Linked DNA regions of Homo sapiens: all the other regions are linked to region 1. The links are contacts of gene promoters, found by promoter capture Hi-C in human tissues and cell types (Jung and others, 2019). All regions are on one chromosome and are shown on one strand. Each heading gives the region's core, a stretch centred on a gene start or on the middle of the fragment in contact. The rest is flanking DNA. Distances are from core to core; before and after follow the strand shown. Region 1 holds the start of UBE2E1 (ubiquitin conjugating enzyme E2 E1). Region 2 overlaps UBE2E2 (ubiquitin conjugating enzyme E2 E2). Region 3 overlaps UBE2E2 (ubiquitin conjugating enzyme E2 E2). Region 4 has its middle 190 kb from the start of UBE2E1.

Region 1 (3,429 bases), core at 337-2,836:
ACACTTAAGAAAGGTTATGTCTGGAAATTTTTTCAAAATCTATATGCATTTCAGTGGTGGAGAAATAGTTCTGTCTGGAAGCAGGAGGCTGAAATTATGACCCTGAAGATTTCTTCCAGCTTTTGAACTTCTTATTCTATGACAACTCCTGGTAGATACAGGTTTCCTGGTAGGGATTGAGCAAGAAGCATGCACAATTACTTTATGAGTCTTGATAAAGCTGGAATTTCAGGTTGATGGTTAGAAGGAGTTCGGCTGGGTCGTGAGAATGCTTGTTTTCCTGGTTACTGGATATGCCATGGGCTGTATATCTTGTGTTGTCCTGTGGTAACTGAAGCCACTGTTGCTGTGGAAAATGATGGCAGTTTGAATGAGATAATTTAGAGTGACCTATGGAAATCTGAGGCTGTCTCCTTAATGTACAAGACCTTGTATGTGTGGCACTGTTGTATTTGAATGGCACACATCTCTTTAGTTCCCTTCAACTGAAATGACAAAAGGTGAGAAACTGAATCGTAATTTGATGGCTTAATATTAAAAAAAAATTGGCAAAAATGCTAAATAAGGAACAATTCAGAAGAATTGCTGATCATTTCAAAAATATTATTTGCATAGCATTTATAGGTAGCTAAAGAAAGAGAAAAATGGCTTAATATTTTAAAAATAATTTGGTCAATTTAGCGATCTGGGGATTCTGCGATCCCCAGAACTTTGCATCCAATTTCCAAAAACCAAACCTTACATCTAATGTAAAATGACACAAAAAATTCTAAATCCAGTCTAATTCAGTAGTATATAGCTTATTCCCAGTGATGTCTCACATTCGCAAGCCCGTTACACGTTGGTTTTACCTGTCACCAAAACCTTTGTATCACTCTTATAAAAAACCACATCACTTTCTATAAAAAGTGAGTGGAAGAATCTAATATTGTAAAACTGCACGTGCCTCGCGTGACCTGAGCAGAAAATTCCTAGTTTGGGATTTTCTCACAGGCATACCTAAACTGACCTCTGCTCCTAGCAGGTAAATTGCTAGAAGGAGAAGCAAGTGTCAGTCCAAAGAAAACCCTTGTTGTGTGATTTTTTTTTTCTCTTTAATCGCTTTTTAGGTGGAGTACCCGCTGCATTCTCTAAAGTCTTTGCCACCACCAGATTACCAACGTTTTCACCAATTTGCCACCTCCCTACTCCTCTCCTTTCCAAAAGCCCTCATTGGAAAGAACTTTCTCTCGTGACCCCCCTATTCCATCTAGTTCCAATCACTCCCAGCGCCCCCCATCTCCATCGGCTTCCCCTCTCCCGCCCAGAATCCAGGTTCCCAAACCACTTAAGAGAAAATTCACAACCCTCGCCCCCTTCCCGGGCGTCCGGAGGAGGCGCTGGGGTGGGGGTGTCTGTGGGGGACAGGGTTTCCTGGGGTCTCCTGGGTCTTCCTCGCGCACCCCCAGGAGGTGTTGCAGGGGGAGGGGAGCGCGGGTGGGTGGGACCGGGCCGGGTGGGGGAGGGGTGAGGGCGAGGAGGAGGAGGAGGAGGAGGCGGCGGCGGAGGAGTGGTGTGTGTGCGAGCGTGTGTGGCTGGGGGAAGCCATTGCCTGTTTAATAGTTGCTGTTGCTGCACTTCCGCTTCTCTCCCAGCGAGAGAGAGACACGAGTGGCCAGGCCCAGCCGCAGCCGCAGCAGCAGCCGCCGCGGCGGCACGGAGGAGCCAGACACAAAGAGAGGTACGGGGATCCCCCCAGCGGCCCGCCGCCCCCCGGCCGCGCCGCCGGGCCTCGGGGACACCCCTCGCCGCCTCCCCCGACTCGCGCCGCCGGGGCCGCCGGGCCGCAGGGCACGGGGCCGGCGCGGGGGGGGAGCGGAGAGGGGCTGGGGAGCCCCAGGGGTCCGGGGCCCGCCCGCGGGGGATGGGCAGGGACCCCGGGCCGCGTGGGGTGCGGGGGCCGCCCGCATTGAGGACGGGGGTCATTGTGGCTCGAACTGTCAGCGCTGCCCCAAGAGCCCCCCACTGGCCACCGAGGGGCCCGGGAGCGGGGGTGGGAGGGAGTTGGGGGAGCCCCGTTTTCCCCAGGGGCGGGGGTTCGCGGGGATTAACCCCTCCGGGGCGGAAGGGCTCATTGTTATGTCTTCGCTGCGGAGGCCGACCCCCCCATTCCCCGCCGCAGCCCCTATCCCCCTACAGGAGTGGCGATCGGGCGTGTGCTCCGGACCCCCGCCCGGCCGCATAGCTGTGAGCAGGGCGGCCAGAGGCAGGCAGGCCGGGAGGGGCGTCGGGGCGCGGCGCGGGGGGGCCTCGGGCCTCGTCGCCCCTGCCCCCCGCCGGCCTCTCCCTTCCCCCACCCGGGCACCCGCTCCCCGCCTCCGTCCCCCTGTTTCGGCTTCCTCTCTTACTCCTTCCCGCCCCTCCTCTCTTCCCGACCTCGCCAAACTCCGCTCGTGGCCCCACAGTCTCACCCGGGCCACCGGCCCCTCACGACCCCCGGAAAGCGGACAAAAACAGCCCCGAGGCCGGCCGGCCGCCGGGACCTTCCCTCCCTGCCCCGCCGTGGCGCCCCGCGCCCCCCGCCCTGCCCTCCTTCGCCTCCCGGGCTACTCCCTCCCTGCCCAGCGGAGAGCCCCGGGGGGCGAGGGAGGGGCCTCTCTCCTAGCTCCAGACCGTTTTCCCACAGCGTTCCCCACTTGGGGCCAAAAATAAACAAGCCGCGTCCGATTTGCAAAAGCCTTAATGGGCCTGCAGACTTTGAAAAGCGAGTGGAGGGCGGTGGGCGGCCGCGTGCGCCCCTGGTCAATGCCCTCCTGACAGCACCCGAGTTCCTTATTTACACTGGCTGCATGGTTTGTGTGTTTCTGTTTTGTTTCTCTCCCCCTGCAGGGGCTGTTTGCGGGGTGGGGTGGGGGGTTCGCTATGTCGGATGACGATTCGAGGGCCAGCACCAGCTCCTCCTCATCTTCGTCTTCCAACCAGCAAACCGAGAAAGAAACAAACACCCCCAAGAAGAAGGAGAGTAAAGTCAGCATGAGCAAAAACTCCAAACTCCTCTCCACCAGCGCCAAGAGGTACTGTGCTCTTTTTTTTTTCCACAGGCTTCCTATTTCCGAACTGCCTCTTGCTGCATTTGGTCTGCCTCCCAATGAGGATAGCTTAAACGCTCCTCATGGTTTATGTGTTCTTAAAAATGAAAGAAGGGCCTTGGAAGCCCTAATTATTTTCTCTATTGCTGCTTCTGTTTTTAAATCATTGCTCACATGCAGCTGTTGCGGCTTGCCTCTCGCATTTCTTGCTGAAGTTTGTAAGATTCCTCGTTACTTTTATTAGTGACCCCCAAATCTGATTTCAGATTTCTTGTCCTACTAATGGTTAATCTGTGACCTTCCCCAAGGCCATGATCCCATTTCTTAATTACTAATACCAGCCCAGAGAACTGCATCAAAA
Region 2 (3,429 bases), core at 626-3,125, 240 kb before region 1:
ACATTGTGCTAGGTACTTTACAGTGGGAGAGTGGGTGGCGGCTTTCAGCTGTGTAACTTGAAGAACCGAAAATTCCTCCTTGTCAAAAAAGTAAACAATATACACACACACACAGACACGCTTTTGTTCCCATTATTTTGTGTCAGTTTCATTTATTTTTGTTAAATATAGCTTCTCTTTATGGTTCTCTTTGAAAATGTGCATCCCTCTGGGAGAGATGACACATTAGGTGACAGTCACATTATGATGTGAGTCAAGGTATATGAACGTGTCAGGAAGGGGAAATAGGTCCCGGAATTAGCCAAATAGGGAGGGAGGGAGGCAACCAGATGCAAGCCGGATTTCCACTACTTTACAAAGCTGCTGTGCAGTCTTTTAGAGAGAGGCCCAACTCTAATTATTACACTCTCATGAACAGTGAGAAACTTGGAGATTTCTTTTGTATGTCCTTATCCCAAAAATAGGCATGGCTTTTTTTTTTTTTTTTTTTTTTTTTTTCAGTGAAAGAGGTTTGCAGCTGGACTGGGAGAATTAAGGTGAGAAAGGTCAACAGGTTACAGAGGCCAGTGCAACAGGGCTTGTTAGACGTAATCAAAGACCTGCTTAGGGAAGCTGCAGGAAGCAGAAGGTTGGGATTTCCACCTAGGGAGGTTATAGGGGCCCTCTGGCTAAAGGGAAGTTGGCTCAACTCTGAAAAGGTTTAAAATCCAGTTTAAAATTCTGATTAGGAAAATCCCACAATAAGCAGTTGGTCTTTTTAAATGTTTCCCCTCTCACAGGGCAAGATGCTTCTGCCTAATAGTTCAGCATCATTGGAAAGGACTTAGTGTGTTCGCAGATCACTTTGATAAGCGCTTCTGCCACCTCTTTTCTTTCCTCCTTTTTGTGCTTTAAGAACCTCCGTCATGAGATCGTTTTCTTCTTTCTGAGATTGGTCTCCCTAGGGAAGACCAGAATGACAATGTAGACTAAATTGTTGTCCAGAGTTGTCATTCATTTGTTGCTTTTGAACTTAGAGAGATGGAAGCCACTACATATTAATGCGTTGTTTTAATGTATAAGCCAACACCTCACACTTACTGAGCATAAAGTTTTTTGCCATGTATTTTCCCTTTTTTGCAGTAGTCTTAGCCCTCTGTCAAATTAACATGTTTGCCTCTTTTGAAAACTCATATTTCCTCCTGAAACAGTAAGAACTAAGGAGAAGAGCAAAGCATTGGAACAGTCCCTGCTGAAGACAATAGTATGATAAGAACATTGAAAAATACAATTTAATAGGCTAAAATGCATTTGGGACATCAAGTTATTGGCCAGAATGCATCTTTATGCATAGCAAGCCTTGCCAGTGGGGATCTCATGGGGAGTAATGGTGATTAAAAGGTTTTTGAAGAGCGAAGTTGTGTAACCAAGCTTGTATAAGAGACTGAAACTTGGTTCATCTCGTAGTGGACAGCCTGAAGACAGACACTCCAGACATGTGTTAGTCCATTTGCATTGCTATAAAGGAATAACTGAGGCTGGGCAATTTATAAAGAAAAAGTTTTATTTGGCTCACAGTTCTGCAGGGTGTACAAGAAGTATAGTGCCAGCATCTGCTTCTGGAAGGGCCTCAGGAAGCTTCCAATCAATGGTGGAGAGTGAAGGCAAGTCACATGGTGAGAGAAGGAGCAAAAACGAAAGCAAGAAGTTGCCACACTCTTTTGAACAACCAGATCTCATTACCACTCATTACTGAGGGAAGAGCACTGAGCCGTTCATGAGGGATCCACCCCCCTGACCCCAACACCTGCCACTAGGCCCTAGCTCCAACATTGAGGGTCACATGTCAGCAGATTTGGAGGGGACAAATACCCAAACCATATCAAGAAAGTATTTGGTGGCCCAGTTAAGAGATGACAAAGGCTACAAAGAGGAAGGAAAGGGGAAAGGCCAAGAGATATCTGGGAATTAGAATCCTCAGGACTTAGTTTCCTTACCACTATGGCAGTATCAGTAGTGACTGTGTCCCAAGCTCAAGAAAGTGAACTTGACTGTGCCTGGTCTCTCACAAATTTCCAGACCAGTCTTAGTGAGGTAAAAAGATGCATTCTAGGATCAGTGAATATTATTTAGTCATTTCATGTACCCAGTGGGTTAATGCTTCTATAACTAAAACAAGCCATTCCCCCTTTTCTGCCAGCAGAAAGATGGAAAACAAGGTTCACAATATGCTTCCCGTGATGTGTTAGGATTTGTTTGGTCATGATTTTTTATCCATAATAGAGGGATATAGTAAGAGTTTGAATCCCAGAAATAGAACTGCCCACTTACTTGGCTGAGGCAGGGGTAGGGGAGAAGCACTGTGTGTGGACAGAATTTCGTCAGGTGGTAGAACATGTTGCCTAAGGGGTTTAAACAACAGTATGTTCGAGTTCAGGCAAGATGTCAGTAAAACAGGAAACTACTGAATACAGACTAAATGTAAGAATCTTTATATATGATAAGAATCGAAACCTTCAGGGACTGAAAGAAGGTCATGGGGAATCTGGAAGACCAAGCAAAAGGTCACTTATAGGAAATGGATCATGTCTGCTTTAGATTCAAAGCCAAGACAGCTGTATATTAAACCCCAAAAAGTGGCACCAGACCTGTCAGAATGCTCACCACGCCAAGTCAGTGACTTAAAGAGTCAGTGATCCTATGGGTATAAATATCAGTTAGGCCCAAGAATGGAAATGAAGAAGGATGTCTAGTCTGGAAGAACCTGCCACCACCCACAAACTAAGTCATCTTGACCAATAGGTTGAACTGTACATGAATCCATATATTAAACAAATACTTACTGCATGGTCATCTGTGGTATCCTATATCCTAGACACTTTGTTGGTTTTGTGATATAAAACTGAAAGAGACACTGCATCCCTCAAGGAGAGGGGGAAGTTGGCAGGCACAGAGCAATAAGTTTCCTCCTTTTTAGAGGTAATGGTTGGTCCCACCTTTAGCAGAAGATTCATATAACACCCTCTCACAGGAGAGAACAAGAGCAAGGCCTCAGCCCAAATCAGAGCCCACACTTTCAGTGGACAGTCACTCCTCAGCACAGACAGCACCCATGTGACTCACCAGACTCCCTTGACCACAGTTTTTCCACAGTCAAAGGCAGGCAGAATGGTCTATAAACTGAAACCACTGGGTTATTTTTATTTCTTGGCTCAAGTTCAGATTCCCACACGTGGTGGAGACCACGGATACGTAACAATGTCTAGGGCATGACTGTTGTATTCACACCCACTATCACAATTCCCTTGTCCTACTCTTACCCACTGAAGAGGAATGTGAACAGAAAAGACTTTGGGGGGTGGAATTGATATATTTTGCAGTACTAGTTACTAGTGGGTGGACTACATGTGAGGATTATGGAATAAAAATTTTTTTGAACAAAAGGTGTGC
Region 3 (3,429 bases), core at 449-2,948, 220 kb before region 1:
ATCAATATTCTGGATAGAGAGCTATCTCCCAGCACCCTGTTAAGTTAAGCACCCTGTTAACTAACAGCACCCTGTTAGTTAAGAGGGTGAACTCTGGCTCCAAGCCCTGCTCCACCCCTTTCTCCACGTTGGGCAAGAGACTCAGCCTCCTTATGCTCCAATTTCCTCCTGTGTCAGCTCCTTAGAAATCCATGTCATTAACATATTAGAGTTTTAGGACATGGTTAGTCATGGTGAGTGTTAGCTATTATTAACATCTATTAGTATTTTTGTAATAATGAGCTATGTAGGTTGGATGTTACCAAATTTTGAGGAAGAAGTGGACCATCTCTCCCCTCTTTTGACTGTCCAGCTCAGACTCTGGCGTCTCCTCAGATAAGGTAATCTGGCAGGAGAATGCCACCTGCCTGTGGTGCTAGCCTAGGGTAAGGAGTTGTCCAGACCGCCAAACGTCTTCCCAGGAGAGCTCATCAAGAGCCCATGAGTCCCCTGCCCACAGCCCACCTGCATTTTCTCCGTGAAATATCTACTTGAAGACAGGCATCTCACACCTGTAATCCCAGCACTTTGGGAGGCTGAGGCAGGAGGATAACTTGAGCCCAGGAGTTTGAGACTATCCTGGACAACATAGTGAGACCCCCAAAATTACAAAAAAAAATTTGAAAATTAGCCAGGTGTTGTTGCACACACCTGTGGTCCCAGCTACTCAGGAGGCTGAGGCAGGAGGAGGATTGCTTGATCCCAGGAGGTCAAGGCTACACTGAGCTGTGATCATGCCACTGCACTCTAGCCTGAGTGACAGAGCAACACCCTGTCTCAAAAGAAAAAAAAAAAAACCAATACGAGGGGAGCAAGGTGAGAAGTATGTGGTGGGTACAGGGAAAGAGAATAAGACTTGTCAAGAAATATGACAAGAGCTATCAGTAAAATACAGATAGGTGACTCTTGGGGCAGCTGGTGTGAAATGTAGTCTGTCAGCAGCAGGTGACTGGCTCAGCCGCAGCAATGGTGGTCCAGGTTAGAACAGCAGCTTCTCATCTCCTACCCTCCCACTCCTTGCCAGCTTTCTGAACACTTCTTCCCCCACAGTGCTGGTATTTACTGACTCCCAACTCTGCTTTCCTTGCAGCTGACCCTCTGGTGGGCAGCATCGCCACACAGTACATGACCAACAGAGCAGAGCATGACCGGATGGCCAGACAGTGGACCAAGCGGTACGCCACATAGGGGCCTGCTGCCTGCCGCCCCGCGGGACCTGTGCAAGCACATTCACCAAGTGCATCGGTAGCCCTGCCCACCCCTCCAGACCTCGGTTCTTATTTTCCTATTTTTATTAAATTTGGAACCATTTTGTGATGGTATGTTGTCCATCTTCCCATCCCAGTTCTTCCTGCCCCCCTTCCTCTCTCCCACGCTCTCTTTTATCTCTCATTTTATTCCCTTGTTGATTTCTGTTAACTTGAAAGATTTGGGATTTTTTCCCACCTCATCATAGATGGGAACTTTTGTTTTCAGTGCAAACAATGTTGGAGCTGTAATAGTAAGAGCTTTCTTACAAAGCTTTGTATTACTGTGTGGTTTTGTTTTTTTTGTTGTTGTTTATTTGATTTTGATTTTTTTTTCTTTTATGTGATCTTTGGGAAAACACATTCAGAATTATATCTCGTTTCTACTTAAATGTAGTGCTTAGGGTTAATTTTTTGTACTGAAGTCTTTATTGGTGGGTGCATGCTACTGGGAACAAGTTTTTGTACAAAAGCTTCAATCAGAATCACTGTGCATTACTGAGACTCTGTTTATCACTAGCCTTCTGTCCCTCCCGCAGAAGACTGTTGGATTGAACAAAATAATATGTATTTTGATTTACTTAAAGTGCTTGTAAATTTCTTAGGGACCTGCCACTTTTGACTGTGGATCAGTTGATGTACACTTGTATTATTAAAGCACTCAATAAATCACTGTGGCTGATAACTGCACTTCTGGTAACCCGACATTTGCTTTGTGTCCTGGTGACCGCTGTAGCCCTACGTGCAGTGAGGCTTGTCTAATTCAATTACAGGTTCAAGTGTATTTTTCATCTCAAACCTCTAATATTTCTTTGGAGTTGAGTTGCTTAGCATGTGGAATTTCTCCAGCTGTCAGTAGCCTGATGATTTTATGGTTGTTATAGTAAATTGCTATCATTTTACATATTGACTGGGCATTCTTTCTGTTACAGCCTTCTTTATCAACAATTAAAATATGTAACTCCAAAAATAGCCTTCTTGTGAAAGTGAAGTCTGAGCTAATCATTGTGTTCAGCCACTTTCAACTTTATTTCTCTCAAAATTGTTACAGTGATTGCCCTCAAGCTTTGTATTGTTCATTTTTGTTGTTGTTGTTGTTGTTGTTGCTGCTCTTTTTTCTCCATGATTTTAGCAAAAGAAGTAAACTCAACTGTATTGGTCACGGTCAGCCCATTCAATGACAAGGGTGTCTGTCTGGCTTCACCTTCAGGCTATTTTAGTGTGCAGCTATAGGAGGCAGAGGAAACGTGGGTGGTGTAGTTTCTAAAACACGCTGACTTGCTGATTGATAATTCAGGGTTATTAGTGTAACAAAGCGTAGTGGAAACTCCTACTCCTGCTGCACCATACAGTTACAGACCCTACCATACTCTTGGTCTCATTTAAGGAACCATTAACACCTTCACTGCTGAAAAGCAGGATTTATAAGCATAAGTCATCCACCTCTAAATATTTTAACATTTAAAATGCCTGATTCAAAAGATACAGTTTTTGTTGTTTTTAACTAGTTAAAAATAAATCCTAAGAAAATATATTTAAATATTGCAAATGCCACTTCTAAACCAAAATACCTGAGAATATTTTTTGTCTTTTTAATAACGATTTTACCATTCATTTTATTTAAAAACATTTCTCAGCATAGCAGGGCACTGTATGGTCTCTGATGCACTACTCAACCCTCTAGTTGTAGTAGAGGGAGCCACAGACAGTACATAAATGCATTGGGCAGAGCTATATTCCAGTGAAACTTTATTTACCACCATAGGCATGGGATTTGGCCCATGGGTTGTAGTTTGCCAATCCCTGACACAGACCAACATAGACTGGGGGCTGGATGAAAAACAAATAACGATGTGTCATTTCTTTCTTTAACATAAAATAAATTCAATATGGTACAACACTGATTTTTGGAAAGTTGCTCAGAATGTTTAATTGCCTACAGTTTCTCACCACAAAGTTTTTTATTTTTACTTCAGATTTTAAAATTCAGCACTAAAGGCATTGAACCATTGAAAATAAAATTTTATTAAACTGCTTTTTTCCCCTACTTTTGGCTGATTAAACCAGACCCATAATACTAATACTTTAAAGACAATCTTTATAGGCAGTTTTTAAATTAAATTTTTTTTTTTTTGGTCTGTAG
Region 4 (3,429 bases), core at 657-3,156, 190 kb before region 1:
TTACGAAGTTTCCAGTTTCTCCATATCCTTGCCAACCATTGTGATTTTGATTGTAGCCATCCTAGTGAGTGTGAAGTGGTATCTCATGGTATCAAGAGAGTGACCACTCAGATCATCAACAAAGGTTTGTAAATAGGTTGTAATATTTTTCCCCAGAAGACCAAATGCCTACTACTTAATTGTTGCATATTCTGCAATTTCCTTCTTCCTTTTTTTTAATAAATGTTTTCAGCTTCTTTTTTTTTCTTTGAGTTGGAGTCTCAGTCTGTCACTCAGGCTGGGGTACAGTGACACAATCTTGGCTCACTGAAACCTCTGCCTCCTAGGTTCAAGTGATTCTCTTGCCTCAGCCTCCCAAGTAGCTGGGATTACAGGCACCCCCCCACCAAACCTGACTAATTTTTTTTTTTTTTTTTTTTTGAGATGAAGTCTTGCACTGTTGCCTGGACTGGTGTGCAGTGGCACGATATCGGCTCGCTGCAACCTCCACCTCCCAGGTTCAAGCGATTCTCCTGCCTCAGCCTCATGTGAAGCTGGGATTACAGGTGCCCACCACCACGCCCAGCTAATTTTTTGTATTTTTAGTAGAGATGGGGGGTTCACTATGTTGGTCAGGCTGGTCTCGAACTCCTGACCTCATGATCCACCTGCCTCGGCCTCCCAAAGTGCTGGGATCACAGGCATGAGCCACCACCCCTGGCTAGCTTTTGTTTTCTTTCTTGATTTCTTGGAAAGGAAGCTGTCAGGAGAAAATAGAAGAAGGATAATCCAAATAGACCTATGCTTCGACATGCAAAATATGCTCTGCAGATTTGCCCTAAGTGGCTTTGTGCAAGAGTAGGGGCACCTTCCTAAGTCCACAGGGAGGAGCTGTGGGGGCATCACTCATGCTACCTGGCCCGGTAGGAGCAGACAGGCTCTTGGCAACATATGCAGCACCAGAGTGCCAACCCTGCACCAGTGTCCATCTCCTCCGTAAGACGCATGTTAAGACTCTCCCATGTGCATCAAGCATTGCTACCCCCGTCCAACCAAGGTAAGTAATGGCCCCAACTCAAGTGGCCTTTAGCTCAGGGGAAGATTCCTGAGATAGGTCTTTAGTCCCAAATCTTTCAGAGCTCAGTGGCCTTTTGAGGAAGCAGGAATTTCAAAGAAGAGTTGAAAACTGGGCTCCCCTCTGAATCCAGCCCTATCGTCCCATATAACTGATACTTATTGGGTTTTTCTTTGTTTGTTTTTTGTCTTGTTTTGTTTTTGAGACTGGGTCTCGCTCTGTCGCCCAGGCTGGAGTACAGTGGTGCAATCTCAGCTCACTGCAACCTCCACCTCCTGGGTTCAAGCAATTCTCATGCCTCAGCCACCCAAGTAGCTGGGATTACAGGCACCCGCCACCACACCTGGCTAATTTTTGTGTTCTTAGTAGAGGCAGGATTTCATCATGTTGGCCTAACTGGTCTCAAACTCCTGGCCTCATGTGATCCACCTGCCTCAGCCTCCCAAAGTGCTGGAATTACAGGCATGAGCCACTGTGCCTGGCCTGTTTTTTGTTTTTAATGAACCTGTTGCCTAGGCTAGGGTTCAGTGGAGTGATCACGGCTCACTGCAGCCTCAACTTCCTGGGCTCAAGTGATCCTCCTACCAGTATAAACATTTTTTCTAGATCATGTTCAAGATGCAACAGGATCTTTATTTTCCTATACAAGTCAAATATGATATGCGTGGGAATTAAATTTGTAAATTATATTTTTTGTTTTTTAAGACAGGTTCTCACTGTTGCCCAGGCTGAAGTGCGATCACAGCTCCCTGCAGCCTCAACCTCCCCAGGCTCAGGTGATCCTCTGACCTTAGCCTCTTGAGTAGCTAGGACCACACATGTGGTGGCATGCACCACCACACTTGGCTAATTTTTGTATTTTTTGTAGAGATGAGGTTTCACCATGTTGCCCAGGCTGGCCTCAAATTCCCGACCTCAAGCAATCCACCTGCCTCAGCCTCCCAAAGTGCTGGGATTACAGGTGCGAGGCATCATGCCTGACCTTTATGATTTTCTTGAATAAACATAGACATTGACACCCCCATCTTAAAACTTGAAACTTATTTGTCTCATCTGGGTTCCTTCTTCAGGAAACTGACCCTTAGGCAAAGGACTAAAATTCACCAGATCACTGCATCCGGCCAGTAAGACACCAGTCGCTTTATTCATTTTCCTTACCCTTCCCTAGTTCCTGTTTTCCCACACACAATTCCATCCCTTCTCAGCTACATAAACCCCCAATTTTAGTCCATTGAGGAGATGGATTTGAGACTTATCTCCCATTCTCCAGGATAACGTCACCTGAATAAAAAGCCTTCTTCCCTGGTGATACTCGTTTTCTCAGTGATTGGCTCTCTATGTGGTGAGTGATGGGACCCAGATGGAACCCATGGTGTTTCAGTAACACCTCTTCCACTCAGGTAAGTGGGTATCTTGGTTTTGGCAGAGTCTGGCTTGAGCGAGTCACAGTGTTATAGGAACTCAAGACAGACCTTCTGAGGGGATGAAGACAGGATGCCAAAGAGAAATAAAAATAAACATGTGTCTAGAACGTGTGCCCCTTATGTTGTAGCATCCCAGGGAGAGCTTGAAGGTGCAGGGCCAGGAAGGAGCTGCTCCTCAGCACAAAATGACTCCACACACAGAGGTTTGAAGAAGCCCCTTGCAGAACCTGGAGATGGTCCCCTGAGGCCAAGGCTTTTACAATCTGTAGTCTCAGCTTCCATCTCCAGGAAGTCGGCCTTGAGAACTTCCTGTTTTTCAGGAAGCTGGTTCAAAGAAGCTGGTTCTGGCCTCTTCAAGGAGAACTACAAACCACTGCTCAAAGAAACAAGAGAGGACACAAACAAATGGAAAAACATTCCATGCTCATGGATAGGAAGAATCAATATCATGAAAATGGCTGCATTGCCCAAAGTAATTTATAGATTTATAGAATGTGTCTATCCCCATCAAGCTACTATTAACTTTCTTCACAGAATTAGAAAAAACTACTTTAAATTTCATATGCAACCAAAAAAGAGCCCACATAGCCAAGACAACCCTAAGCAAAAAGAACAAAGCTGGAGGCATCACGCTACCTGACTTCAAACTACACTACGAGGATACAGTAACCAAAACAGCACAGTACTGTTACCAAAACAGATATATAGATCAATGGAACAGAACAGAGGCCTCAGAAATAACACCACACATCTATAACCATCTGATCTTTGACAAACCTGACAAAAACAAGCAATGGGGAAAGGATTCCCTATATAATAAATAGTGTTGTGAAAACTGGCTAGCCATATGCAGAAAACTGAAACTGGACCCCTTCCTTATACCTTACACAAAAATTAACTCAAGATGGATTAAAGACTTAAACCATAAAAACCCTAGAAGAAAACCTAGGC

The links. Contacts are between HindIII fragments. The study calls those that stand out against the background at their distance.
Region 2: a contact is called between a fragment that was not itself captured here and the fragment with the promoter of UBE2E1 in region 1, in 1 of the 25 tissues and cell types used here (IMR-90 fibroblasts).
Region 3: a contact is called between a fragment that was not itself captured here and the fragment with the promoter of UBE2E1 in region 1, in 1 of the 25 tissues and cell types used here (mesendoderm cells).
Region 4: a fragment that was not itself captured here is called in contact with the fragment with the promoter of UBE2E1 in region 1 in 1 of the 25 tissues and cell types used here (IMR-90 fibroblasts).

What each region holds. Positions count from the first base shown.
Region 1 is chr3:23,804,369-23,807,797 of GRCh38, forward strand. UBE2E1 (ubiquitin conjugating enzyme E2 E1) reads left to right here and starts at 1,587. Exons shown (of 6, transcript NM_003341.5): 1 at 1,587-1,720; 2 at 2,869-3,053. The coding sequence starts at 2,902. UBE2E1-AS1 (UBE2E1 antisense RNA 1) reads right to left here and starts at 2,537. Exons shown (of 2, transcript NR_046652.1): 1 at 2,451-2,537; 2 at 1-346. RefSeq lists silencers at 1,523-1,632, 1,713-1,842, 2,033-2,332, 2,533-2,712 and an enhancer at 3,013-3,102. The HindIII fragment of the contact is 15,489 bases long and covers 1-3,429 here.
Region 2 is chr3:23,564,974-23,568,402 of GRCh38, forward strand. All of the region lies in intron 5 of UBE2E2 (ubiquitin conjugating enzyme E2 E2), which reads left to right. Among named protein-coding and RNA genes, the nearest start is that of UBE2E1, 240 kb to the right of the region's middle. The HindIII fragment of the contact is 6,098 bases long and covers 1-3,429 here.
Region 3 is chr3:23,588,605-23,592,033 of GRCh38, forward strand. It overlaps UBE2E2 (ubiquitin conjugating enzyme E2 E2), which reads left to right. Exons shown (of 6, transcript NM_152653.4): 6 at 1,130-3,190. The coding sequence ends at 1,227. Among named protein-coding and RNA genes, the nearest start is that of UBE2E1, 220 kb to the right of the region's middle. RefSeq lists an enhancer at 1,182-1,681. The HindIII fragment of the contact is 5,004 bases long and covers 1-3,429 here.
Region 4 is chr3:23,614,404-23,617,832 of GRCh38, forward strand. No RefSeq gene overlaps it. Among named protein-coding and RNA genes, the nearest start is that of UBE2E1, 190 kb to the right of the region's middle. The HindIII fragment of the contact is 9,145 bases long and covers 1-3,429 here.